Regions from separate parts of the Homo sapiens genome. Here all the other regions are linked to region 1. The links are contacts of gene promoters, found by promoter capture Hi-C in blood cells and fetal thymus (Javierre and others, 2016). All regions are on one chromosome and are shown on one strand. The core of a region is centred on a gene start or on the middle of the fragment in contact, and the rest is flanking DNA. Distances in the headings are between cores, read along the strand shown.

What was found. The method cuts DNA at HindIII sites, captures the fragments that hold promoters and counts their contacts. A CHiCAGO score of 5 or more calls a contact.
Region 2: a fragment that was not itself captured here is called in contact with the fragment with the promoter of CALHM5 in region 1 in 9 of 17 cell types (naive B cells, M1 macrophages, M0 macrophages and 6 more); the score reaches 11.4 in naive B cells.
Region 3: a fragment that was not itself captured here is called in contact with the fragment with the promoter of CALHM5 in region 1 in 6 of 17 cell types (naive B cells, total B cells, M0 macrophages and 3 more); the score reaches 9.1 in naive B cells.
Region 4: a fragment that was not itself captured here is called in contact with the fragment with the promoter of CALHM5 in region 1 in 1 of 17 cell types (neutrophils); the score reaches 5.7 in neutrophils.
Region 5: a contact is called between a fragment that was not itself captured here and the fragment with the promoter of CALHM5 in region 1, in 16 of 17 cell types (naive B cells, total B cells, neutrophils and 13 more). The highest score is 26.8, in naive B cells.
Region 6: a contact is called between a fragment that was not itself captured here and the fragment with the promoter of CALHM5 in region 1, in 13 of 17 cell types (total B cells, naive B cells, neutrophils and 10 more). The highest score is 15.7, in total B cells.
Region 7: a contact is called between a fragment that was not itself captured here and the fragment with the promoter of CALHM5 in region 1, in 9 of 17 cell types (naive B cells, total B cells, monocytes and 6 more). The highest score is 15.8, in naive B cells.

What each region holds. Positions count from the first base shown.
Region 1 is chr6:116,509,824-116,513,675 of GRCh38, reverse strand. CALHM5 (calcium homeostasis modulator family member 5) reads right to left here and starts at 2,037. Exons shown (of 2, transcript NM_153711.5): 1 at 1,440-2,037. The coding sequence starts at 1,979. All of the region lies in intron 3 of TRAPPC3L (trafficking protein particle complex subunit 3L), which reads left to right. RefSeq lists an enhancer at 1,745-2,326. The HindIII fragment of the contact is 2,544 bases long and covers 1,287-3,830 here.
Region 2 is chr6:116,270,755-116,274,775 of GRCh38, reverse strand. It overlaps a transcript of DSE not described here. Among named protein-coding and RNA genes, the nearest start is that of TSPYL1, 7.2 kb to the left of the region's middle. RefSeq lists an enhancer at 3,149-3,650. The HindIII fragment of the contact is 2,550 bases long and covers 263-2,812 here.
Region 3 is chr6:116,327,548-116,331,612 of GRCh38, reverse strand. It overlaps a transcript of DSE not described here. Among named protein-coding and RNA genes, the nearest start is that of DSE, 41 kb to the left of the region's middle. The HindIII fragment of the contact is 1,232 bases long and covers 1,008-2,239 here.
Region 4 is chr6:116,346,263-116,350,516 of GRCh38, reverse strand. It overlaps a transcript of DSE not described here. Among named protein-coding and RNA genes, the nearest start is that of DSE, 23 kb to the left of the region's middle. The HindIII fragment of the contact is 4,031 bases long and covers 78-4,108 here.
Region 5 is chr6:116,288,525-116,292,712 of GRCh38, reverse strand. It overlaps a transcript of DSE not described here. Among named protein-coding and RNA genes, the nearest start is that of TSPYL1, 11 kb to the right of the region's middle. The HindIII fragment of the contact is 6,300 bases long and covers 1-4,188 here.
Region 6 is chr6:116,306,103-116,310,077 of GRCh38, reverse strand. It overlaps a transcript of DSE not described here. Among named protein-coding and RNA genes, the nearest start is that of TSPYL1, 28 kb to the right of the region's middle. The HindIII fragment of the contact is 6,577 bases long and covers 1-3,975 here.
Region 7 is chr6:116,364,986-116,369,082 of GRCh38, reverse strand. It overlaps LOC100287467 (a long non-coding RNA gene), which reads left to right. Exons shown (of 1, transcript NR_148944.1): 1 at 1-1,658. It also overlaps a transcript of DSE not described here. Among named protein-coding and RNA genes, the nearest start is that of DSE, 3.9 kb to the left of the region's middle. The HindIII fragment of the contact is 574 bases long and covers 1,378-1,951 here.

The DNA of each region.
Region 1 (3,852 bases), core at 788-3,287:
CAGCACCTGCTATTGATACAAGTTCTCTTGCCCACATTCCTTATGCATCTTCCCACAGGAATCAGCCCCAGGTCCTTCTCATTCTGATGAAGAATCAGCAGGTCAGTGTGCTCAGCCTAAGCTATGACATGATGTGCAAGATTTCCTTGTACCTGTGTTTAGAGAGGAGAAGCTCACACAATGATAAGTGTTTGGGCCTGCCACTGACTGAATGGAGCCTGGTGACTGAGGACATACACCATAAATCAATCATTCTGTCATAAGAGTTGTAAGTTATACCCTTCTTCAATAAAAGACACAAGACATTTGGGAGCCTGATATGTTTTATCTAAGATGTGCTTTATGCATTAAAGAAAAGATTTTGTTTTGGAGTATTTTTTGACTTATCAATTTATGAAGAGTATGACTTTACTGCCAACCAGCTTTGGAGTGTATGATTTTAAAAACAGATTTTGCCTTGATTTGTTGTTACCAAGGCAAATCCTTGTCGAAAAAGTAAAATAATGCTATTTCTGTGCCTTTATTCTGAAACAGATAGCATTCCTGACAATTTGTGGATCTGCTTATCAACTCTTACCACTTGTTTTGCTTTTGGGAATGCAATTCTTACTACCTATAAATGGGAAGTTAGTCCTTCCTAAGGCTGTACATCTGGATTTGTGTTCATGTGCCTGGAGGAATGACAGGCTACTTCCCTGCATCAATTAGGTAAAGATATGATTTCCTTCTGTTAAATAAAACAATGCCCAAATCTTGAGCTTCTGAAGTAATTAAGAACCCCTTTAGCTGTACAGCACAAAGAGTATAAAACATAATCTCCCTAGAGAGTACAGTCACTTTTTCACAGAAGGCTATTTAAAAACTGCTGATTCCTACCATACAAGGAAAATTCTTCTCAATCTTGACAATATTTATACACAGAGATAGCAGTTGCCAGAAATCATTCAAGAGAATCTCCACACTAATTATATTACATGCAACTTTGAAAAGTAATAACTCATTTCATTCAGCTACATTTTAATAGATGAATAATACATGTGTGTGTTTGAGAAAACAACTTGAATGTAAATAATTGATAGAAGGCAGTAATTTCTAATTACAGCTCTGCCATTAACACTCAATTTATGATTTAGTGTTAGGCATTATTTATTTACAGACCCAGAGAGACTGTTTTAAAGTACTTAAGTATTTATATGTGGACAATCCAGTGGATATTTTCTTTTCAGAACCGGAAAAGAGATAATCCAGTCAGCAACTTTATTGAGCCACCCAGCCTTTCAAAAGCTTTTCCTGAGATAGTCTCAATGCTGCATCATGTTTCAGTTTCCATTTAGTTTCAAAATATTCTGACAGGACACAGACAGCCCTGGCTGAAAGGAGCACAGAGAGAATACTTCGAGCTCATGCTGAGAGAAAAAGGCGAGTTTGTCTTTTCTTACCTGAGACTGGGCCTGAAGGGAGAGTTTCAGTTCTTCATTGACGGTAGGTAGCATGCTAGTTTTGCCACAAGATACTTTGTGAAGTTCTTCCCAGCACTCTTTGGGCTTACCCTTGCAAATCAGTTCCAGGAGTCCTGAACTTCTCGTCCCGCTCATGGCACATTCATAGAAAGTTCCATTGAGCAGAGCCACAGAAAGCCACATCACTGGAGCCACCAATGAGCTCAGAGTGATCTGGCCGAGGACGTAGAAGAAACGGCAGCTGTGGCCTCTGGGAAAGATTTTCCTGGGATTCACACAGCAGCCTGTGAAGAGTCTCCACGACCTATTGTTCAGAAAGAATCCCAGGATCAGTAACACCCAGGCAGGAGCAAAGAGGAAAACCAGCCCATAGGTCATATTCTCAGTGCTGCAGGGGCACTTAAAAGCCACAACAGAAAAGAGACGCTCACTTCCCACGGTCAGCAGAGCCATGAAGCTGTAGCCAATAACAGTTTTCTGATTAAGGAAGAATTTTAAAATGCCCTGAAAAGCATCCATGTTGGAGATGCACAGAGGGAAAATGCTGTGCCTTTGTTATTGGCAGAGCAGCTGTGGCAGTGGCCGAGGGTGGAGCTCTTTCTTCATCAGAAACAACAGTCCTTCTCAGACTGAATTGAGCCAGATAAGGAAACAATGTCATTCCTTAGGAATGAATATTTCTCAACATGTTTAGATAATGCCTCCTACTGGTGGAAATTGGGCTGTGATACTGCAGCCTAAATGCTGAGAATAAATTCAAAGTGCACGGGCTCCATTTTAACCTTCTTTCCATGTGGTTTGGATTGAAAATCAGAAAAGAAATTCTCACTCATACAAATAATAGTCTAGGAATTTTCCAGTGTAAGGAATCAACATTAACAGAAAGAGGTTTCAGCCGACAAATCAAATCTCCAAACCTAGAATTTTATGAATGTTTTTCTCTTCCTATGACTTGAGATTTGGAAGACAGGGATTTGCTGTCTTTTTTCATATATATAAAAACATATGAAAATTATATATATATATATATATCAATAGCTTTTGGAGCACAAGTGGGTTTTGGTTACATGGATGAAATATACATATAAATATACATATATATATATATACATATATATATGAGATTTTAGTGCACCCATCACCGGATATGTATGTGTACCCAATATGTATTTTTTTATCCCTCACCCCCTTCCCACTCTCCCTCTTTCTGAGTCTCCAAAGTCCATTATACCACTCCATATGCCTTTACGTACCCATAGCTTAATTTCCACTTATAAGTGAGAACTACAGTTTTTGGTTTTCTATTTCCGAGTTACTTCGCTTGGAATAACGCCTCTAGCTCCATCAAGTTGCTGCAAAAGACATTATTTCATTCTTTTTTATGACTGAGTAGTATTCCATGGTATATATACACCACAGTTTCTTTATCTATTCATCAGTTGATGGGTACTTAGATTGGTTTCATATCTTTGCAATTGTGAATTGTGTTGCAATAAATATACATGTGCAGGTGTTTTTTTTTAATATATAATGACTTCTTTTTCTTTGGATAGATACCCAGTAGTGGGATTGCTGGACTGAATAGTAGATCTACTTTTAGTACTTAAAGTTCTTTCTTTAAGAATGAAAGAAAGGTGCCGTGGTTCATGTCTGTAATCCTAGCATTTTGGGAGGTCGAGGCAGGTGGATTGCTTGAGCCAAGGAGTACGAGACCAGCCTAGGCAACATGGTGAATCTCCCTCTCTACAAAAAAATACCAAAAAAAAATTAGCCAGGCTCGGTGGCATGCACCTGTAGTCCCAGCTACTCAGGAGGCAGAGATGGGAGGATCGCTTGAGCCCAGGAGGCTGAGGTTGTGGTGAGCCAAATCATGCCACTGCATTCCAGTCTGGGTGACAGAGCAAGACCCTGTCTCATAAATAAATACATAGAAGGAAAGAAAGAAATCTCCATACTGTTTTTTATAGAGGTTGTACTAATTTACATTCCTACCAGCATTCTACAAGCATTCTGTTTTCACAAAATTCATACCAATATCTATTGTTATTGCCTTTTTAGTAATAGCCATTATTACTGGAATAAGGTGGTATCTCATTGTGGTTTTAGTTTACATTTCCCTAATGATTAGTATGTTGAGCATTTTTTCATATGTTTGTTGTCCATTTGTATATCTTCTTTTGAGAAATGTCTATTGATGTCATTTGCTCACTTTTTGATGGGATTATTTGTTTTCTTCTTGCTGATTTGTTTGAGTTCCTTATAGATACTGGATATTAGTCCTTTGTCAGATGCATAGTTTACAAATATCTTCTCCCATTTTGTGGGTTGCCTGTTTACTCTGATGTTTATTTCTTTTGCTGTGCAGAAGCTTTTTAGTTTAATTAGGTCCCAT
Region 2 (4,021 bases), core at 288-2,787, 240 kb after region 1:
TTTCTTTAATGAACTGTTCTTGAGTACTTAAGATGCACTGAATATTTTGCAAAATGTACTGTGCAACACTTTCTTGATATAGGCAGGGTAGATTTTGATGCCAAATTGACACAGTTATATTGGTTTAATTTTTAGTGACTTTTAAGACCAATATATGCATATTTTCTAAAGTAAAATGCTCTTTTTTTTTTTTTTGAGACAGAGTTTTGCTCTTGTTGCTCAGGCTGGAGTGCAATGGCACCATCTCGGCTCATGGCAAGCTTCCGCTCACCGCAACCTCTGCCTCCTGGGTTCAAGCGATTCTCCTGCCTCAGCCTCCCCAGTAGCTGGGATTATAGGCATGCGCCACCACGCCCGGCTAATTTTGTGTTTTTGGTAGAGAGATGGGGTTTCTCCATGTTGGTCACGCTGGTCTCAAACTCCCGACCTCAGGCGATGTGCCTGCCTCGGCCTCCCAAAATGCTGGGATTACAGGCGTGAGCCACTGTGCCCGGCCAAATGCTCTATTTTTAGTTTACAAATGTACATGATGTTCAGAAAATATTTTCAGTCGTATTTTAACAGTTGGCTAGCAACAGAAAAGGAAAATATCTGAGTCTAGCTCTGCATTAAGTCAGTTCAATGAACGCGTACTACTTGAAAAAGCAGCCGGGCAGGGTGGCTCACGCCTGAAATCCCAGCACTTTGGGAGGCCGAGGCGGCTGGATCACCTGAGGTCAGGAGTTCGAGACCAGCCTGGCCAACATGGTGAAACCCCGTCTCTACTAAAATTACAAAAATTAGCTGGGTGTGGTGGCAGGCGCCTGTAATTCCAGCTACTCGGGAGGCTGAGGCAGGAGAATCGCTTGAACCCAAGAGGTGGAGGCTGCAGTGAGCCAAGATTGAGCCATGGCACTCCAGCCTGGGGACAAGAGAGACTTCGTCTCAAAAAAAAAAAAAAACAAAAAAACATACTTTTTGAAAATTAGTGGTCTGTAATTGTAATCTTGCAGTAGTTGTTTATTGAATACTAGCATAAGTAAGGATTGAATGGGATAGTAAAGGTTGTCTTTGCCCTTGAGGAACTCAGGCTCATTGAGGGGGGTACCGTTCCTTGAATGTTTCCTTTTTTTCTGCAGCAAATACACACATTCAAAACATCTACTGCACACAAGCAAACTCAGAGAGGACCAGCCTGGCTGAGAGGAGTTGACCATCCCCCTCAGGACTGACTTCCTTTCCTTCAACATTATTATATAATTAAAGTCCTAGACTATATAGAAGTGACAGGTATGCTCTCTATGCATTTATTATTATGGGAGGTGTTTTACTTGGAAGCAGTACTTTCTCCATGTTAAGTGCTTTGAGCTCTGAAGGGCCATCTTAATCCATTCTCTCTGACCTCAGAGGTTGTCAAGACCTATAGAAGAGTTTCTATCAAGCCACATTAGGAAAAATGTGGATGTCTACTTTTTGGCTTCACTTTTTTTAGGATTTGTATTTAAGGTAATTTCTTTGAGAACAGGTAAAAGGAAATGGTTCAATTAAAAAGGAAAGGGTCATTTAAGTAAGTTACTAATTTTTGTGAACACCTATATGTCTTAGATATGACCTGATGGGCAGAGAAGGCATACTAGCTTTAAATTAGGATTAAATCCCGGTTTTACAATTACCATGTATTGCATTTCCCAAAATAAACTACTCTGAATCTTGGTTTCCTTATCCATAATGTAGGGATGATAAAACTTGCAGTATAAGCTAATGTTTTAGGATGCATTTGGAGACTGCATTATAAGGTTACAGAGAAGATAACAACAGAAACATTTGAGAGCTTACTTTGCGCCTGACACTGTGCTAAGAGATTTCAAGTATTAATATAGTTATAATATAGAGGTTAGACAGCAAGCATCATGTCTAGCATATAATATGCAATCAATTAAAATTTCCATTTGTCTTCCTCTCAATTTTAATTTCTCATTTAATTTACATTCAGACAAATAGTCATCTAGCTTCATGGTTCTCAAACCTGGCTGATCATTATATATAGCTTTGAGCTTTCAAAAAATACTGATGCCAAGACTCTACCCTGAACCAATTAAATTACAGCCTAAAGTGCAGCTGAGTTTGAGAATCATGGCTTACCTTTTCTTGAACTCCTTAAGTTAGGGAATACATACTCCCTTCCCAGTTTTGTCAAATTGATTCAAATTTGCCACCTTATAAACATCCAGCTATTGCAAAGAGCCTGGTATATCGTAGAGTTTCAGTATATCTATTTCATAGTTTCCCCCCTGTGGTCTTGCAGAATGGAATTAACCTGAATTCAACAAAAGAGGTCTTTAAAATTCATAACAGCAGGTGTCGTCTGTCTTTGAAATTCCCTTGCCAAAAAAGGAAATGATTTCTTAGTGATATGCTTTACTTCTGTTGATCACTATTTGCTCTTTTAAAGTGTCCAAAGATGTTTTAATAGATACTTGGTATTTGTTGTTTTCTTTAATAAAGTATAATTTACATGTAGCACAGGAATGGTCATAGCAGTTTTATTTATAACAGCCCCAAACTAGAAACAGCCCAAATGTTCACCAACAAGTGAGTGAATGAACAAATTATGGTATATTCATACAATGGAACACCACTCAACAATAAAGAGGAACAACCTATTGATCATCAACATGGATGAATCTCAGAGACATGTTAAGTGAAAGATGTCAAAGGAATATATATTATATGATTCCATGTATATGAAATTCACTAGCATAGAAAACTTTTTTATGGTGATAGAAATCCCAGGAATGGTAGCCTCAAGGTTGAGGGGAGTAACGGTAAAGCTTGAGGACATTTGCAGGGGTAATAGTGCTCCATATCTTGAGTTGGGTGATAACACAGGTGTATCCACTTTTCAAAACTTGTCCAAGTATATATTTAAGATTTATGCATTTTAGTGTAAGTAAATTATACCTCAATAAATAGATTTTAAAATATTATTGATAATTTAAAAAATAGAACTTCATTTGCCCATCTCCAGTCTTTTGGCTTCTCTTCCTTGGTGGTAAAAATTGCTGACTCTACTTACAAGATCTTATTTGTGAGTTCTTACTGTTGCATGATTTTATTTATAATTCTAATAATGAAATTCCTTTTTAAAAACTTATTTCTCTTTCAATTCCAGGCCAAAATTGACCTTTCTCAAGATTCTCTTAGTTTACAAACTGAGGTCTGTCATCCTCTGGTCATTGAAGTGAAGTCTGCTTAGGACATATTGTCCTGTAAATAGGATTGACATTCCCTGGGGCCCTCTCAAGAATCTCTCTGAGCTTCCTTTTCCATTTCTGACCATTTAGATGCTTACAAGATGCTTTTCTCTGACTTCTTCAGCTCCAACTGCTCCTTTCCATTACCCTAAAGCTGTGGATCATAAAGAGTGTTCTCCAGACCAGCAGTATCTGCACCACCTGGATCTTGTTAGAAATGCAGATTTTCGAACCCCACCCATGAGCTACTGAAACAGAACTCTGAAGGTGAGGCCTAGAAACCGGTTTTAACCAATGTGCCAAGTGATTCTAATGCCTGCTATCAATCATTTGGGAACCATTGTCCTAAACTCAGCTGCTGCTTCTGCTTCATCTCCAGTTGATTCAGTTTCCTTAATTGTTACCATTATAAAAACAAAATAAAGCAAAACAAGACATTTACCTATATTATTAATCACAAATAAGTTCCCTACCCTGTGGGGTCACAATTTGGGCTTTGGATATCTAATTCTGCATCAAGTACATATCTCTGTCTTCACAATCTCAACAAATTATTAGATATATCAGTAACTTCCATATATGCTCTCATTTTGTAGTTGCAGTGTCACTATCTCCATTTAATGGATAGGGAAATAGGGGCTCAGGAAAGAGAAGTGTATTATCCAAGACGAAGGTAACATGGGCTGCATTCAATTAGGGTTTCTCATTTCCAGCTAAGACACTTTGCACCATATTGAAGCAGCTTGTAACTAAATTTGCCATAAAAATATATCTAAAATCCTAATTAA
Region 3 (4,065 bases), core at 374-2,873, 180 kb after region 1:
AGAAATGTTGGTAACTATTGATATGGTTTGGCTCTGTCCCCGCCCAGAACCTCATCTTGAATTGTAATCCGAATTGTAATCCCCATATATTGGGGGGTTACCTCGTGGGAGGTGATTAGATCATAGGGGCATTTCCCCCATGCTGTTCTCATGATAGTGAGTGACTTCTCATGAGATCTGATGGTTTTATAAGGGGCTTTTCCCCACTTCGCAGTGCACTTCTCCTTGCTGTCACCATGTGAAGAAGGATGTGTTTGCTTTCTCTTCCACCATGATTGTAAGTTTCATGAGGCCTCCCCAGCCCTGCAGAACTGTGAGTCAATTAAATCTCTTTCCTTTATAAATTACCCAGTCTTGGGTATTTCATCATAGCAGCAAGAGAATGAACTAATACAACTATTATCTTATTCCTGATCACAGAAAGAAAGTTTTCAGTATTTCTATGGTGTTTATTATTGGTGTTTTGTAGATACCCTGTATTTGATTAAAGAAGCTCTCTTCTATTCTTCGTTTGCCCAAAGATGTATTTTAATCATAAATAGATGCTTACTTTAACCAACTGCTTTTCTGCATCTAGTACAATTATCATATAATTTTTTCCTTTATTCTGTTAATGTCATAAATTCTCAGTTTTCTAATATTAAACTAACATTGCATAATTGCAACAAACTCAACTTGTGACATTTCATATATACATGTTGTATGGTTATCTAATATTAAGAATTTAAGCATATCTGTTCATGATTGAGGTTGCCTGCAATTTTTCCTCATCATTTAATGTTCATGTTCTTATATCAAAGTTGTGTTGACTTTATAAGCTAGGTTGGAGAACATCTTTGTTTTTCTGTTTTCTGAAAAGGCATAAAATCAGGGTATTTGCTAGACTGGAAGGTTTAAAATGAGTGATTCAGCTTTTTTGAGTCATAAGGAGATAGTCATAATTTCTATTTCATCATGTTGAGATTTATGCAGTTGTATTTTTTGTATTTTTCTTATCCTACTAAGCTTATAATAAAATAATCAAAACATCAAATATATTAACTAGAAATAGTTATTACCAAAATCGGTGGTAGTTGAGAGTTGTATTTAAGGGTAGCTCTTTCTATTTCTTGATTATTAAGAGTTCCCTTATTAAAATAAATTGCTTTTTGGCATAATTGTCAAAAACATATGTAATACCAAAAAGATTAAAAATGCATTTTGTTTTGAGTTAAAATGAATAGACGCATGCAGTGGCATAGCTAGGTACTTGATGCCTGAAAGGGACCATTTTTAATACGCCTTCCTCTGTATGATAAAAGTATTTTCAGTAATAATTTTGAAATGAAACAAATAATAATTATGTCCAGAAAAGAAATGCAGGCAGTGAAAGTTTTCATTTATTCAATTTTGACTATGTAATCATGCTAATAATAAATTAATAAAGTATATATTTTAGCTGAAAATGCAAAAAGTTAAGGTTTAATACTTTTTAAGTACATTAGTATGGGCCAGGCGCAGTGGCTCACGCCTGTAATCCCAGCACTTTGGGAGGCCGAGGCAGGTGGATCACCTGAGGTTGGGAGTTCAAGGCCAGCCTGGCCAATATGATGAAACCCCATCTCTACTAAAAATACAAAAAATCAGCTGGGCGTGATGGTAGGCGCCTGTAATCCCAGCTACCCGGGAGGCTGAGGCAGGACAATCACTTGAATCCGGAAGGCGGAGGTTGCATTGAGCTGAGATCGCGTCATTGCACTCCAGCCTGGGGACAGAGCAAGACTCCATCTCAAAGAAAAGAAAAGAAAAATATTTATACCTATATACTGGTTTGCCTCAGTGAAGAATAATCACTTTATGTTTTCTGACTTTGAGCATTAATTTTTGCAAATTTGTCAATGCTTTGTCAAATTAATCTTTATATAGTCATGGTCAGTAAAATCAGTGCGGTCAGATGTGTTGACATCACTCATAGTTGATTGAAGAACATTTTTTATTTTAATTTCAAAAAGTTTCACGTGAAATAACAGATATGGAAATAGTGATGAAATCTTTAAAATAAGAATACATTCATCAGATTCATACAAATCCCATTTCACAATAAATTCCAGAAATTATAGTACTACCCATATCCTTTTTTCTTTGGGATCAGTTCCAGCAGTTTTCAAATATTTCTGCTGTTGAAAAATTTCCACTAAAATAACTTCACCAGAAAATTCATCATAAATTTCTATCATATTTGGTAAAATTCTCCAAAGCTTGTAATGATTGTGAATTATTTGAGCTTGCTTCAGGCTCAGGTCACATCTCCAGTCCCTGTGGTACTATGTAAGCCTGTATTTAAACACAGACTAAAAATAAACAATTACAGCAGAGTGATTATAAAAATGAAACAGAACTTGACTGCTTATTCTTGAAATAAACAAGTATAGCTGAGTCCATGTGCATTTGAGAGTTAGAATTACTTCCACATAGAATGCAATGTTTATTAAATAATAAGTAATAATAAAAACGTAATATTCAGCTTACATTTGTTTTGTTAAATTTCAGCAACTGCAGCAGTTGTTTAGAACTTAGACCAACAAAAGTTTTTTTATTTTTCAAAGAGGAGTAGTATTGTTGATATTGCTTGGAACTGCCAGGCATAGTAAGCGGAACTGCCAGGCGTAGTAAGCAGAACTGGCTTTTATTATTATTTTATTTTTATTTCTTTTCAATTTTCTACACACAAAGCAGCCCTTATTGCCTGTACTAGGGGTGAACTACTCTCCTTATCCCATCCTTGGTATCCCATACCACTGACTGGATGAGAAAAATAGTGAAGCAAGCTGAAAGGGAACACTCACTTCCTTTTAAACAGCAGGCCAGATAGTCTTCTGGAATTAAGAGATTCCAAGTAATTATAAGAAGAATAAAGTGGTTTGTTGATTTATTTCTGGAAACTTTCACAAAAATAGATATTACATTCCTTCTTGCTCCTTTACTGGGCTTGCTTGAATCATTACAATGTGCGTCATTTTTTATTATCTGCTGATACTGGCAGTGGAGTACTAGAACTTACTTTGATGTAATGGAATGGATATACCAAGATTTTAAATTTTGGTCAGTCTTACAGACCTCTGCAGTGCCATTTGAGGTATTTCCTGGCTGTATCTGAAACTCTTCGCACCCCATCTCAAACTGAAGGGAGGCAAAATTGTTCTGCTCAATATGTGCACAGTCTCCTCGGTCCAGAAAGGAAACGTATGAGAAATTTGATTAAAATCTAAGTGACTCATAATGTGAATCTCAAAAGAGTGTAACAAATGTTAATTAGTTTTAAATTCCAACACCCTAAGAACTTATTGTATACATTGTAGTAAGTGAAATAACTGGAAAAAACAGCATTGAATCCTTTCACAATCAGACTCTCCCCTAACCAAAATGACTGTACCTTGTATGTTTTCTATGTTTCATTGACAAATTTGGTTGAAGGAACTAAACTACGTCTTTCTTAATAATCACAAAATAAACAGAAGAAATGCCCATTTGGTGCTTCCTGTTTGGTTCTGTTGATGGGCTAATGTTCCCTCCTGCTGTAGCAGTTGAGTATGTTTATATTCTTGACCCCTCTGCAGGGAAGCAGAAAAGAATCTGAACTCCGATGACTTGCTGTGCTTTTGGCTTTGATGTGCTCCTCTGGCCTCTGTGGCGGAAGCTCCATGTTAAGTAACAGACCTGAATTTACACTAAAAGTAGTGAAAATACCACAACAGCTAAAAGAAAGACTTTTAGCTGTTGTGTCTCTAAATTTACTTGTGTAAGAACACAGTTTTTGTAGTAACACACATAATGGTTTCAACTGCCCTCAAAATTAGGCAGGTAAAATATATCATAGAACATTTTCTAGAAAATATGTAGAATGGCCAATGAGGCAGAAAGCATAAACAAATAATGGGCTCACCGGAAACAAACAGAAATATTTACCAAGAGCAGTTTGGATTCAAGTATTATGGATAATACTTTAAAGTTTTGACCTCCAAATATCCTGTAATACCAGTGACTTCTATGTAACCCCTGGACTCCAGCTGTGGTTCTTTCAGCATA
Region 4 (4,254 bases), core at 844-3,343, 160 kb after region 1:
TGGGTAGAAGCTCATGACCCTGCAAATTCTAAATTTAATTTTCAGTTTGGGTTACCCAGAATTCACTAGAGTAAGCTTTTGTGATACGAAAAGAAGAGATACAAGTTCTTTTCTCTGAAGAGTTCTCATATAATCATGCTTTTAAAAAAAGAATTTATTGCCACAGAAGTTAGAAGTAGAAGATTTCCACTCTATAGGGAAATAAGTCAGTCCTAGAATAATGTAGGCCCATACCCATTGATCTTCATACTCTTCCTCAACCATACCATCTTGGGCAGTTTTTATTAAGGCATACGAAATGGCCTGATCACTTTTCAGTTTTCTTACTATCCTGTTCTCTTATGAGATAAATCATTTTGACATAGAAAAAAGCAAGATATAAAATTTAAAAATGAAACTGGATTTGAGCTAATTAGCCTCTTAAAATTATAAGTTCAGATTCCTAAACACTATAAAAGGGAGTAGTACATTTAGGTATTTTTTTAAAAAGACTATGCATGTAAACATGAAATAATTAATATGTAAGTGATTCTTTTAAAGGTAGTAAGTGGTGAGCTTTTGGTTATGGCCAAGTGAGGAGACAAATTCTCTCTGTAAAAAGTAACTATAAAGCTGGATAAAATTGACAAAAACAATCATTTTAGCACTCTGAAAATCAACCAAAGGCATACAACCTGAGAAGTGTTTAGGCTTGAAAAACTGCTGAATATAAGAATAATGAGAACCTGTGGCATTCTAGCCTGAAGCTACTCACATATCTGCCCTCCCTTCCTCCTCACTTCAGTAAGGACAGAGGTTTTATAGAAGGAGGCCAGGCCATGAGGACAGGCAGCTTCTCTGTCACGATCCATGAGAGCTCACTCAATCTGGAGTGATGAGAAATGACCACTCCCAGCAGCATATTTGGTAAAAGTGCTGATCTCTGAGGTGGGTAAACAGGGAAAGCCAACTGCTCTACTAGTCTGAGGCTGTAGTCACAGTTGGAGAATACTTCTCTGGCTGTGTATATTTCCTGGAGAAGGCCCGAGCTAGTCACTCAATCCCGGCTACCCCTGAATTTGTTTGCATAAAAGAGATAAGAAAAGGTCCAGTGGTCAGTAAAAGCTGGAGCTTGAGTCAGCTTGAAAGCACCTGAACTCTGAGTGAGCTCCCCTACCACACAGAGATCCTTTGGCAAAAGACAGAAACTTCATTGGCTCAAGTGTTTCAGCACAACCTCTATCCAATCACTAAGCCATACTGGCATGGGAAAACCTTTAGGAATCCAGGTTTAGAGGTGTGTATGTATGTATATGGGTGTGTGTGTGTAGATATATGTATATATGTATACATATCCATTTTATATTAGTGTATATAAATATTGATATATATGTATATGTATGTGTATATATATATTTTGGTTATACTTTATGTTCTAGGGTACATGAGAACAACGTGCAGGTTTGTTACATATGTATACATGTGCCATGTTGGTTTGCTGCACCTGTTAACTCATCATTTACATTAGGTATATCTCCTAATGCTATCCCTCCCCCCTCCACCCACCCCACCCTGGTGTGTGATGTTCCCCACCCTGTGTCCAAGTGTTCTCATTGTTCAATTCCCACCTATGAGTGAGAACATGTGGTGTTTGGTTTTCTGTCCTTGAGATAGTTTGCTCAGAATGATGGTTTCCAGCTTCATCCATGTCCCTACAAAGGACATGAACTCATCCTTTTTTATGGCTGCATAGTATTCCATGGTGTATATGTGCCACATGTTCTTAATCCAGTCTATCATTGATGGACATTTGGGTTGGTTCCAAGTCTTTGCTATCGTGAATAATGCCGCAATAAACATACGTGTGCATGTGTCTTTATAGCAGCATGATTTATAATCCTTTGGGTATATACCCAGTAATGGGATGGCTGGGTCAAATGGTATTTCTAGTTCTAGATCCTTGAGGAATCGCCACACTGTCTTCCACAATGGTTGAACTACTTTACAGTCCCACTAACAGTGTAAAAGTATTCCTATTTCTCCACATCCTCTCCAGCACCTGTTGTTTCCTGACTTTTGGGGTTTTTTTTTTGTTTTTTTTTGTTTTTTTTGAGACGGAGTCTCACTCTGTCGCCCAGGCTAGAGTGCAGTGGCACGATCTCGGCTCACTTCAAGCTCCGTCTCCCAGGTTCACGCCATTCTCTTTCCTCAGCCTCCCGAGTAGCTGGGACTACAGGCGCCAGCCACCATGCCTGGCTAATTTTTTTAATTTTTAGTAGACACGGGGTTTCACCGTGTTAGCCAGGATGGTCTTGATCTCCTGACCTCACAATCCACCCGCTTTGGCCTCCCAAAGTGCTGGGATTACAGGCGTGAGCCACCGTGCCCAGCCTGTTTCTTGACTTTTTAATGATTGCCATTCTAACTGGTGTGAGATGGTATCTCATTGTGGTTTTGATTTGCATTTCTCTGATGGCCAGTGATGATGACCATTTTTTAATGTGTCCGTTGGGTGCAAAAATGTCTTCTTTTGAGAAGTGTCTGTTCACATCCTTCACCCACTTTTTGATGGGGTTGTTTGATTTATTTCTCATAAATTTGTTTAAGTTCTTTGTAGATTCTGGATATTAGCCCTTTGTCACATGGGTAGATTGTAAAAATTTTCTCCCATTGTGTAGGTTGCCTGTTAACTCTGATGGTAGTTTCTTTTGCTGTGCAGAAGCTCTTTAGTTTAATTAGATTCCATTTGTCAATTTTGGCTTTTGTTGCCATTGCTTTTGATGTTTTAGTCATGAAGTCCTTGCACATGCCTATGTCCTGAATGGTATTGCCTAGGTTTTCTTCTAGGGTTTTTATGGTTTTAGGTCTAACATTTAAGTCTTTAATCCATCTTGAATTAATTTTTGTATGCGGTGTAAGGAAGGGATCCAGTTTCAGCTTTCTACATATGGCTAGCCAGTTTTCCCAGAACCACTTAATTAAACAGGGAATCTTTTCTCCATTTCTTGTTTTTGTCAGGTTTGTCAAAGATCAGATGGTTGTAGATGTGTGGTATTATTTCTGAGGGCTCTGTTCTGTTCCATTGGTCTATATCTCTGTTTTGGTACCAGTACCATGCTGTTTTGGTACCAGTACCATGCTGTTTTGGTTACTGTAGCCTTGTAGTATAGTTTGAAGTCAGGTAGCATGATGCCTCCAGCTTTGTTCTTTTTGCTTAGGATTGTCTTGGCAATGCGGGCTCTTTTTTTGGTTCCATATGAACTTTAGAGGAGTTTTCTCCAATTCTGTGAAGAAAGTCATTGGTAGCTTGATGGGGATGGCACTGAATCTATAAATTACCTTGGACAGTATGGCCATTTTCAGGATATTGATTCCTCCTATCCATGAGCATGGAATGTTCTTCCATTTGTTTGTGTCCTCTTTTATTTAATTGAGCAGTGGTCTGTAGTTCTCCATAAGAAGTCCTTCACATCCCTTGTAAGTTGGATTCCTAGGTATTTTATTCTCTTTGAAGCAATTGTGAATGGGAGTTCACTCATGATTTTGCTCTCTGTTTGTCTGTTATTGGTGTATAGGAATGCTTGTGATTTTTGCATATTGATTTTGTATCCTGAGACTCTGCTGAAGTTGCTTATCAGCTTAAGGAGATTTTGGGCTGAGATGATGGGGTTTTCTAGATATATAACCATGTCATCTGCAAACAGGGACAATTTGACTTCCTCTTTTCCTAATCCAATACCCTTTATTTCTTTCTCCTGCCTGATTGCCCTGGCCAGAACTTCCAACACTATTTTGAATAGGAGTGGTAAGAGAGGGCGTCTCTGTCTTGTGCTAGTTTTCAAATGGAATGCTTCCAGTTTTTGCCCATTCAGTATGATATTGGCTGTGGGTTTGTCATAAATAGCTCTTATTATTTTGACATACATCCCATCAATACCTAGTTTATTGAAAGTTTTTAGCATGAGGCGCTGTTGAATTTTGTCAAAGGCCTTTTCTGCATCTATTGAGATAATCATGTGGTTTTTGTCTTTGGTTCTGTTTATATGCTGGATTACGTTTATTGATTTGTGTATGTTGAACCAGCCTTGTATCCCAGGGATGAAGCCCATTTGATCATGGTGGATAAGCTTTTTGATGTGCTGCTGGATTCGGTTTGCCAGTATTTTATTGAGGATTTTTGCATCGATGTTCATCAGGGATATTGGTCTAAAATTCTCTTTTTTTGTTGGGCCTCTGCCAGGCTTTGGTATCAGGATGATGCTGGCCTCATAAAAT
Region 5 (4,188 bases), core at 31-2,530, 220 kb after region 1:
TCTTCTACTTACTGACATTCAGTTTGTTTTCTTTTTTTTTGTTTGTTTGCTTCCTCAACACTTCAGTGTAATAATCAGATCCTTACTCTGCTCCCAACAATGCTGCTCCCTACAAACATTCTTCCCTCAACCCTGCATCTCCTTGAACTTGTCATCCAGTCTTTCCCCTTTTCTATACTGACAATTATGAAAGAACTGGCCTCACACACTATCTATATGTTCATTTATCATTCATTTTTTCAACTCTGCAATTTTTCTGTCTTGCTACTTTTCTGAAATTGCTCTCACTAAAGACACCCATGCTGTATAGCTGCCGCCCAATTCGGAAACTTTTCTTCCCAGTCTTCATCTCACTCAATATGGCTGCATCCCTTGAACCTTAGCTTCCTGAAGTCCATTCTTCCCTTGCATACTGAAACAACACTCTTCTGGTTCTTTCCCTACCTCTAATGGCTATTTCTCAGTTTCCTCTACTTGTGCCACCTCATCTGTTTCTTTCACGTCAGTGTTCCTCAGAGCTCTATTTTTGGCCTTCCTTTCTTCTTCCTCTACTTGTCTTCCTGGTGTTCTCGTCCACTCTGATGATGTCAACTATCACCTAAACACTCAAGATTTCCAAGTCTAACTGTAAACCCCACTCTTCTCCTGCTCTACAAATACCCAAATCTATCTGATCTACAAATACCCAACATCTCCCTAGAGTCACATGAAACTCTCCTTGTCTGTAGCTGAACTGTTGATCTCTCCTCCCACTACAACCCGATCTTCTTCCTGTATTCCATAACTCAATCACATTTCCACCCATCCTTGTTACCCAAACTAAACAAATCAGTCTTCCTTAACTTCTTGTCTACTTTCATATCTAGTTTTTCAATTGGTTCTACAATTTATCTGACATATTCTGTTGTCAGTTACTACATTCCTAAAGATATCCTCATCTACCCTTGCCTGCATTTTTATAATACTTCACAACTGATATCCCAGCCTTTAATCATATAACCTTCACATCATTTTCCATATGGCAATTAATATTATTTTCTGACACTGTCCATGTCAATCCCCTGTTTAAAAGCCTCCAATATCCTCTAATACCCATAGGATTAACAAATATGTATATATATAATTATATTTAATATATCATAAACATATAATAATGTATAATAAAAAGCCTTTAACTATCAGATTCCATTTTACCTAACCATCACCCCCAACTAATCTCCCTATCTTTCAGTCATTTCCTCAAGCTGGCTGGACTTCTACTTGTATTTGAGTCTTTGTTCAGGGTATTTTAGTCAACCTGGAATTTTCACCCCCTCTCTCTTATTATAATTTTATTTTTCTTATTAGGACTCATCTCAAAATTATCACCTCTGAATTCTTACCAAGCTCTCTTATCAATATAGGAATACAAATTTCCTATTCTGTGCACCCAAAGCCCTTTGTCCACATCTCTCTTGCTGGAACAACACTCTCCTAGTATTATAATTATTGGTATCATCTGGTATTATAATTGTTTGTTTCATCTGGTATTATAATTATGTGTTTCTGTGTCTATCTTCTCCACAACACTGTGGTCCCTAATGAACAAAGTCCATGACTTTCAGATTTTTGTATGCCATCCCACAACTCTTGTGTCCTGCATAAACCTCAACAAATGTTTTGAATTTAGAGAGTTTGGAAAGAACAGACGAAGTGGTCTGGTCTCAAGTCTACGCCTCCAATCTTCTGTGCTACAGATGACATTGCAGAGCACAGTGGTGGCCAGAAAATTGAGCAAACTTAGAATGGGTGCTTTGTTTACTTTTTTGCATTCATAATGCAGTTCTAGGATCAGCATTCAATCAACAATTTCACTGAGGTTGGCTGGAAAAAGTTTCTCCCTTTGGGAGAGAAGTTAGCAGTTAAGAGGATTCCTTTCTGCTTTTGGAATTAGGGAAATATTTCCAATTATGAGAGACCACAAATGGGTAGATGATATACTAAGTGGGAAGGATGCAGATTGTCTCTTCTCAGGATGAGTTTTAAGGAATTATTTCCAAATAAGACTTCATGTATTTCCTGATAACAAACCTTGATTTTCAATAATTGCTCCTGAGTGTAGAACAGTACAAATTAATAAAATATTTATTTGCTAGAGCTCTTATATCCTTGAATTAATTAATCAGCAAGTGAAATCTCTGAACCCCAAGTCTGAGAATCTAGAAATACTGTTAATTTAGAAATATCAGCAGTAGCAGGAGATATTACTTTTAAAATGTGCCCCACATTTAGTAAATGCTTCCCCTGAGGGCACTTAACTCCTAAAAACCATATGTCCTGTTTAGATTAATATATTATAATTAAAGTTTCCATGGCTGTTTAAGCTAGCCATCAGTGTGGAATCATTCAATCAATGCAGCCAACACTGCCTAAGAATCTTCTAGGTGCTAGGCACTAATGATACAGATCCAAGAAAACGAAGTTATTAGAAAATAGGTGGCAGTAACCCTTGAGTTCCCCGGTTACTGTCAAAGATTTCAAGAAATCAGAAAAGCAACATGGCATAGTACAAAGAGCTTTGAAGCCAATAAACTGGGTTTATATCCATACTCCATTACTTATTAGTCATGTAACTTTAGGCAAGTCACCTGATATCTCTGGGATTTCTTAATCTTCACAACAGGGTGAATACTACCTATGTAATGGAGGGGTGAGGCAATTAAATAATATATGAAAAGCATTTAACACAGTATCTATTATGTAGTAAATATTCAATAAATATAAATATTTCTATTTATGATGATGAATGAAATATGGTATTTTTCAAATCAACCTGTCACATTTTTAAAACAGATGTGCATAGAATGGCTTGCTTACAAACCCAGTGAAGTTATAATATAGTCTCAGAGCCAAAGAACTCACAAGGCAGAGTTCTCAGCTAATGGATGAAGTGTTATGACAACCAAAGTATTAAGCTGGATACCATAATATGAACTTTTCATATTGAATCAATTTGTATGTGGAAAGTAGTAAATGACCTTGATGAATTTTGTTTTAAAACAAGAGGGCTGGTTTTCTTTACTTTTTATTATTTTTATTTTTTTTATCATGAAGGTCTAGTTGTTCTGAAAAGGTTCTTTGACCCTAGGACTATATTTCCATTTAAAAAAGAAATTTCTGATATTTTTGTATGATACATGAGCTCTGGAGTTTTAAATGAATGGCAACTAACAAAATGTTTAAAGGGTTTTAGCTGCAGATCTAAATACTACCTAAAAAATACACAGAAATATTTCCTTTGCATGAAATTGCTTAATCTTAGGATATTGAGATGCTTTCACATATAACAGTCATGTTTATTAAATGGCTTGACTGTGAATTTTTGGTATAGTAACAAACAAATCACTATGATTCATAGTGACTTTAAAAAATCTATGCAAGTATTTTCATTGTTTCATGTACATTATTTTTAAATTTTCTTTTAAATTATTATACCTTACCATTTTACCTTACTAAAAATACAGTAGGGGTTTGTCCCACCAAGTACACATTTTATTGGTTATTTAAATAACTAATTTAATTACACATATTTTTCAACTAACACTTCCTGAATTTGACCCATTTAGCTTCATTCCTCTCTCTGAAGGGTAATGGCTCAGATTTTTGTAACTTATTTTAAATATGTAAGTTTTATAGTGAAGCAACATAATATTTGGATTATCCTTTTTATGTTATGTGAGCCAGTGGATAAGTACTTCTACTTATATACTCCCAATTATAAACACACAAAATTTTTGCTCAAAAATGCTGCTAGTATGAATTTCAAAAGGTGTTTTTTTCCCTTAAGACTCTTATAAAATGTGTGCCTGCTACCTCTGTGGTATGGCATTTTAGTTCCAGCAACTACACCTTTTTCCACCACTTGAAGATGCTGTATGTCTAGAATAATGTTGTCCAACAAACTTCTTGCCATGATGAAATGTTGCATGAGATCCAATATAGCAGCCACTAGTCAGATGTTGCTAATAAGTACTTGAAATGTAATTAGTGTGACTGATGAACTGAATTTTTTACTTTACTTCATTTTAATTAATTTAAATCAAAATAGACACATATGGCTAGTGCCTATAGTATTGGACAGTGCAGGTCTTGAATGCATGTTGAAATAGCTGGAGCAGTGGACAAGTATGGTTACTATGTCCTCACGCC
Region 6 (3,975 bases), core at 1,315-3,814, 200 kb after region 1:
ATATATGTGAGGTGCCTAGCAGAAAACCTGGCCACAATAAATATTCAGTAAACTCTAATAGTTGGCAAAATTTTGAATGTTCCTTATGTGCATGACTGCTATGGTTTAAATGCTTCTTTTTTTTTTCTTTCCAAAATTTATATGGAAACTTAATCCTCAATACAACAGTACTGGAAGATGAGGGCTTTGAGAAGTGATTGAGTCATGAGGACTTTGCCCTCATGAATTGGATTAGGTGCCCTTATAAAAGGGCTTGATAGAGGGAGTTTGCTCCCTTTTTGTCCTTCTGCCTTCTGCCATATGAAGACACAGCATTCCTCCCTTCAGGAGAACATGGTGTTCAAGGCACCATCTTGAACCATCTTGCGGTTCAAGGCCACGTCTTCACTGGACAATCAACCTGCTAGTGCCTTGATCTTGGACTTCCCAGCCTTCAGAACTGTTAGAAATAAGTATCTGCTCTTTATAAATTACCTAGTCTCAGATATTTTGTTGTAGCAGCACAAACAGACAATAACTATTGTGTTATTTTTATATTTGGGTTAATATAAGCAAAGATGAATAATTCATGTATAACTAAAAACAGATATATCTACTAATACATAAATACTATCCTCATCCATATATGAACAAAAGTTAATACCATCATAGTTAAACATATAAAGGAGCAATAATAGAACCCATGCTAGACAATAGATAATAGGCAATTGACCTTCTTCATTTTAGAGTGGTGTGTATGTATGTATGTATGTATGTATGTATGTGTATTCCAAATATATAATGACTAAGTTTTAAAAAATTATTTTCTAGACCATCTTGGAAGAAATCCACCTAAAAAGTAGAGTTGTGTGTATACAGGATGAGGGGGGAATAAAATGAGCACATTGAGTGCTATGTGTCATCTAGCACAACAGATGATTCTAATTTTCTTTAATTTGCTCCTCATAAAAACATCATGAGATAATAAGTTCAATTTACTAATGGCTGTTCTAAACAAAATAAAAACTTTTAGTAAAAGTAATAATCAATTAGAAATTTTAATTGATCTTATTTGTCCTCTTGATTTAAAAAACATTAACCATAAGAGCCACTATTTATTAGAATATCTATTATGAGTATCTATTATGCTCAAGGCACGGTAACTCATAATTTATATACCGTTTTTATTCATTTTCAAAAGAATGCAACAAGGCCGGGCACTGTGGCTCACACCTGTAATCCCAGCACAAAAAATTAGCTGGGCATGGTGGTGGGCGCCTGTAGTCCCAGCTACTTGGGAGGCTGAGGCAGGAGAATGGCATGAACCCGGGAGGCGGAGCTTGCAGTGAGCCGAGATCATGCCACTGCACTCCAGCCTGGGTGACAGAGTGAGACTCCATCTCAAAAAAAACCCCAAAAAACAAAAAAATGCAACAAAAGATGGGTGTTATTATCACCATTTTATAGAAGGTATACTTGAGGCTCAAGAGTTTATGTAAATTGCTTTAAAAATATAGCTAGTAAGTCACAAAACAAGAATGTGGGCACTGATCTTTCTCATTAAAAAGCCCTCATTCCACCTACTATGCCAGGCCATCGTCATAATACTTTGACATTTAACCTCCTGTTCAATATTCCTTATGTTTTCATTCATATTTATCAACAAATATTTTCTGTCTAAACAGCTCATATCAAAATATCTAAGAGTAAACAAGGTCACATCAAGTTCTATGTTACCTTATACATTTACGAGATTTACAAATCTCTTACAAGATTGAAGCCGAGCTTAAAAACAAAACAAAAACACTCCCAGAATTTCTGAGTCTAATGCTTACCAGGAAACAACTTGCCTCCAACTCTTACAACATACAATATAACAGGCAGTATTAGTTGAATAAATAGTAAGTGGAAGCAACCAGGTTGTCTAATAGTCAACAGGAGAAATAAATCCACTCCATGACATAGTTAACACAGAGCTATAGTAATATGTGGTTCAGGACATTCAAAATTAGGCCAGCTGGTTATCCAAAGAACACAGGATGGTGATGGTATACTCTGCAGTTACCATAAATTGTCACTGAATGTTCAAGGCCCTGTACAGAATGAAATAAAAAACAAAGAAAACAAGCAAAAGCAATCTCTGAGTTGATAGAGATGACTATTGAAAGAATTAGAACTAAGGAATATATTCACTGTTCACGCTTTTCCAGTAATTCCTCCTAATTTTACCTGAACTTGACTAAACAGTTCATATTTACATGACCCTCCAATTTTTAACTAGAAACATGTATTGCCCTTTGGAATTATCTTGTACACACTTCTTTCCTTGTGCAGCATGGGCTGCACAGTGTTTTGTTTTCAATAAAATATCTGCTGAAATGCCTCTGTGTAAGAGGGTAGAGAGGGGACTGTATAAAAAAATTATTTGTAATGAAAGATGAGTTGGAGTAAGGATAATAAACAGAGACCAAGATTCCTACCATTGTTTAACTTCGTACTACCTTTAGAGAAAGAATTAATCATAATTTATTAGTAACAGCATCTCATTTTTAAAAACTTCTCAATTATTATAAGCATACATTATTGTCTAGTTCATATCCATATAAAATGTATGAAGAAAAGGTTCTTTTCAGAATGTTTTCAACCAAATGCATTCAAAATTCTTTATTAAGATACACTCTTCAGGTCACTGAATCCATCACTGAAGACATAGGAACAGGCAAGTAGGAGCATATACAATGCATCGGCTTGACTAGAAACTAGCTGTCTGTCAACTGCTGAAATTATCTTGTCACAAATTCAAGAAAAGTAATGATCAATCCACACCCAAACAGTAAGGTTAATGAATGATTGGAGTGGTCAGGTTCAGATTATGCCATATTCATTCAGCAAGCCTGGACTTAAGGTCTCCATGGGTCAGGCAGTGAGTTAGGGACAGAAAGATGAAACACATAGCTGCTGTCCTCAGGACTCACATGCCTGTGTGAAAGATTCATCAACAACCCAATATAAGATAGAGTTCTAACTGCTATATTTTACCTCTGTGTAAAGTTGTATGAATACACAGAGGAGGTATATTAGTCTGCTCATGCTGCCCTAACAAAATAACATAGACTGAATAGATTAAAAAACAGAAATGTTTTTTGTATTTTCTCACAGTTCTGGATGCTGGGAAGTCCAAGATCAAGGTGCTAGTCAATTTGGCTCCTGGGGAGGGCTCCCTTTCTGGCTTGTAGATGGCAGCCTTCTTGTTGTATCTTCCCAAGGCAAAGAGAGCTCTTAGGGCACAAATCCCATCATTAGGGTCCTGCCCCCATAACTTCATCTAACCCTAATTCCTCCCAAAGGCCCCATCTCTAAAGAGTATCACATTGAGAGTTATGGCTTCAACATATAAATTTTGGGGGAACACAACATTCAGTTCACAAAAAGAGGGAAGAGTTGTATCTGCCTAGTGCTGTAGAGAAGGGTATTATAGAAGCAACATTTGAACTTGGTCTCAAAGCAGGCATAGGAGGTAACCAGTGGAAGAGCTGGGAGGGCTTACCTTATAGAGCAAACAGCAGGAACAAAAACACAGAAGGAGAAACAAACATAATCATTTCAGCATATATAGAGTAAGGAGTGCCTTAGAGAAAGCAAAAAGTGAGGCAGGAAAATTAGGATGAGACCTGATTGTAGAAACTCCCTGAGCATAATGTTTATGAGCTTAAAATTTCTTTTTATGGGCAGTGGGAAGTTTATGAAATTGTATGTGTATGTACCTGTGTGTGTATGTATGTTATAATAAAGTCTGTTGTTTGGATAACAGTTACATAAGTTCAATATCTAAAAATTGAGTTTTTAAAAGTTTCTATGTTGAAATAATTTTAAACTTATAGAAAGGTTGCAAGAATAGTACAAAGAACTTCTTTGTAGTTTTTATCCAGATTTACCAATCATTACTCTCTTGCCATATTTATTGTTCTCTTTTTACATATATATGCATATATCATT
Region 7 (4,097 bases), core at 415-2,914, 140 kb after region 1:
CCAGGATTGAGAATTCTTCAAAGGAGGTAGTACTGACTGTCATTTGCTCCCCTTTACCCTCACACCCCCCACAATTTTGCTTTTGAGTGACCTGCGAATTGGCCTCTGGATGACATTCACTTTGTGCAAAGCCCCCCCCGTCCCCCCGCCCCCGCCCACCCCATTACAGTAAGTCTCAACAGATCTGCTATTCTGCTCTCTGGAATCTACAGGATACACCTAGCCTTGATTCCACAGGAGAATACTTCAATTTACCTGGGTACATATTAACTCCATCAGCTTTTCTTCATCCATTAGGAAAGCTCTCAGGAGGAGATTTACTTTGCCAACATCTCTCTCAAACCCTGATGCCAAGAATTGAATTCAAGGTTTCACCCAAGTGACAAACTAGAAAGATGTTTAATGGCTTTGTTGTAATTACTGTATTTCCCTAAGTATATCCTTGGAGCTTCCATGGCAGCAATATTACCCAGCTGACTCCATATTACAATCTACCAAATAAAACCTTAAAGTGTTAAAAGTTTAGTTGGAGAATCACTGAACTAAACAACTACACTCAATGCAGTGTTCAGCACTTTACCTGTGATTCTACTGAATTTTATTGTGTTAAATTAGGCCTCTTAGCTTGTTGACATATTGGGTATCATTGATATAACTGAGTAATTCCACCTCTCAATTTCATGACCTCTGTAAATCCGGTCTGTATGCCATGCCATCATTTAAGTTCTCATTCTCAGGTACCTTCCTCTGCCAACCGACACTGGATTTGAATGCTACTGATGAACATTCTTATCAGTTGAGGACCCACATGTTACCTTGTCCTATTTTTGTCTGTTGTCCCAGGGTAGCAGCCTGTGTACATGGGTACGTGGCACTTTTGTAAGAATTAGAAAAAGGTATCCCCACTCTCACCTTAGCTGAAGGATTAGGAAAAAGTGACCCCTTACGCCTAGATGCAGCTCCAAACAGACAGCAGATGAGCTTTGTCTATTGGATGTCTTTGCTCTACTGTAATATTGTCAAAAAACAAAGGAAATGACTACTTAGTGAATTGTGGTTCATGTCTACAAAATTGTGTCTTCCTTTTCTAAGTATCCAGATGTCATTTTAATAATAGGTTTATTCATTTTGTTCAGTATCTGTGAAAAGTTTCTTGCCTCGGTTTCAGACTAAGGCAAAAACTGGAACTCCATCTGTCCACCTCCAGTTTTTTAGTGTTCATCTCCCTCTGCTGATTCTAGCTGAGAGTCCTTATTGGTAAACTCTCCTTGCTGAGATGGAAATTTACTAGGCAAGAAGAAGTTAAGCTTTAGACAGCTAGGACATATTTTCTTACAAGCTTCTTCACCTATCTTTTCAGTTAACTCTTTGAAAGCTTATTTTATCCCTTACATTTAATGGTTTATTTTTACATAATAGAGAAGACAAAAAAAAGGGAATTAGTTTTGTTTAGTCATCCATTTTATCTCAAGCAGAGGCATCCCTTCCATGTTCTTCTTGTCTGAACAAAACAAAATGTTATTTTTTGTTGTTGTCGTCCTTAGTTTATTCTTGGCTTTAGCCTAAAATAACAGAGTAACAATATTACAGGGCTGTTACAGGTATGCGGCTTCTGTTCTCCTCTTGAGTTTAATTCATTAAACTAAATTTTAATCTGCCTTTTATGTTTTACTAATCAGTCTGGTCCATGACTATACATCTGCTTCCATTCTTGAAATGCTTTTTGTTTTTCTTCCTCAGGCCAAAATTATTCTATTTGTAAAACTGCCTTACCCTGCACCTATAGATTCTCTCATCTTCAGATCACAGAAGAAGTAAGATCATTTTGGTTTGCTCAAGCCATACTGCCCTGTACTTGTACTTACTGATTCAGTGATAATCTCCTGAGCTTTCCCTTCCATTTCTGAGCATTCAGCCCTGGCCAGGCATCCTCCAGAGGCTTCTCCAAGCTTCCTTGCTCAGGCCTCCCTCCCTGCCTTTCTCAGCGCTGACATGATCTTCTCCATTACCAAGACTGCTCCGCTGCGACTGCTTCATCTCCAGATGACTCAAGCTTCGTGGGCTTAGTTTTCATCTTTAAAAAAAATGAAACATTGACCTACATTCTTAATAATAATTGAATTCCACCTCCACTGCAAGTCACAATTTGAGATTTCTGCAGGTACATACTTCCTGGCCTCACAATCTTCTAATAGGTCATGAAATGTACCAGGCACGTCCATACGTGTCTCCTTTTATCCTCACAGGCACTGACTGATGAGGAAACAGAGGCTCTGAAAGTTAAAGTGAATTTCCCAAACCATAAATGGTTCAGACCACATAACAATTATGTTTTCTGACATAAAATCTAGGATCCTTCCACTAAACCACTTGGCCTAGACTAACTTTTTGTGTCTAAAGCCTCATTTACAGTTTGCGTATCCTGGCCTCAGTTGAAAGCTATTCTCCATTCATTGACAATTGACTTTTGAAATGGATGATTTTATATCACCTCTTATTATAAACTACCTAAGGTGTCCTAAACACCTTCCAAATTATAATATTGTTCTCTGAAATTACAAAAATTACTGATATTTGTTACATGAATGAATGAAATTAGATGTTTATTCTTTTCCTTAGACTTAATAGACCAAAAGGAGTGTAACATTTAGTATTATAAGCTCCTTCATGGTAGAGACTCTTCTTCATTTCTATAGCCATTCCTCATATTTCCTGGCAGAGGGCACGTTTATTAAATTAGAATTCAATTTTCAGATTGTGGCTGTGTCCCAGTCTAGATACCATGGTGGATAATTTAATGTGTCCATCAAATAAGAGCAAGGACTTTGAAGTTGAACAAAACTAGGCTGAAATCTAGACTCTGTCACTAACTGTGTGACCTTAGGCAGGCAAGTCATTTAACATTGTTGAGTTCCACTTTCTCATCAGTAGGATTTTGATATGCAAACTTTTCTCATACAGTTTCTGGAAGGAGCAAACCAAACGTTGTATATAAAATACCTGCCAAGGAATGAGAACTCAGTAAGTAGGTGTTTATTGTCATAACTTAGAATGGTTCTAGGGGCTGTCAATGAGAGATACACCCTTTGGAATCAGTCTTGTGTGGACTGGAACATGCCTGGGCATTTTTCAGGCAGGATCTGAAGCAATTAAGGTGAGTGATACCCTACCTCTCAGAACCCTGCTAAAAGTAGTTGAGGTCATGCCAGTTTTTGCAATAGTTTGGAAATCAAGCCTTCTGTGCTCTTCAGGAGGAGATAAGGATTGTCGTGGCAGTATTCTATAATAGTAATTCTAACCCCTGGGTGCATATTAGCATCACTTGGGAGAACCCAAAACACACCAATGCCTAGTTGTACTCTTAGAAATTCTGATTTAATTCCTTCTAGGATGAAGTCCAGATACCCCATATGCTTTTAAAGGTACGAGATAGTTCCAATGTGCAGCCAGAGTTAGAACCAATGCTACGTAGTGGTGCTTCCCAAACTTTGCTGCACATTAGAACCATCTGGAGAGCTTTAAGAACTTCCGGCCACGTGCGGTGGCTCACGGCTGTGATCCCAGCACTTTGGGAGGCCGAGATGGGCAGATCACGAGGTCAGGAGATCGAGACCATCCTGGCTAACATGGTGAAACCCCGTCTCTACTAAATATACAAAAAATTAGCCAGGCGTGGTGGTGGGTGCTTGTAGTCCCAGCTACTTGGGAGGCTGAGGCAGGAGAATGGCGTGAACCCAGGAGGCGGAGCTTGCAGTGAGCCGATTGCACCACTGCACTCCAGCCTGGGCGATAGAGCAAGACTCCATCCCCCCCACAAAAAAAGAACTTCCGATGCCCCAGTTATAGTCTGTACCAACCAAATTAGAAAGTTTGAGGTGTTTAAAACTCTGTGATTCCAATGTACCAAAAGTTTGGAACCACTGTTTTATAGAGTGTTACTAAATAGGCTGGGTGAGGTGGCTCACACCTGTAATCCCAGCACTTTGGGAGGCCAATGCAGGCAAACTGCTTGAGCCCAGGAGTTCGAGATCAGCCTGGGCAACATGGCAAAACCCCATCTCTACTAAAAACACACACAAAAAATTAGCCGGGCATGG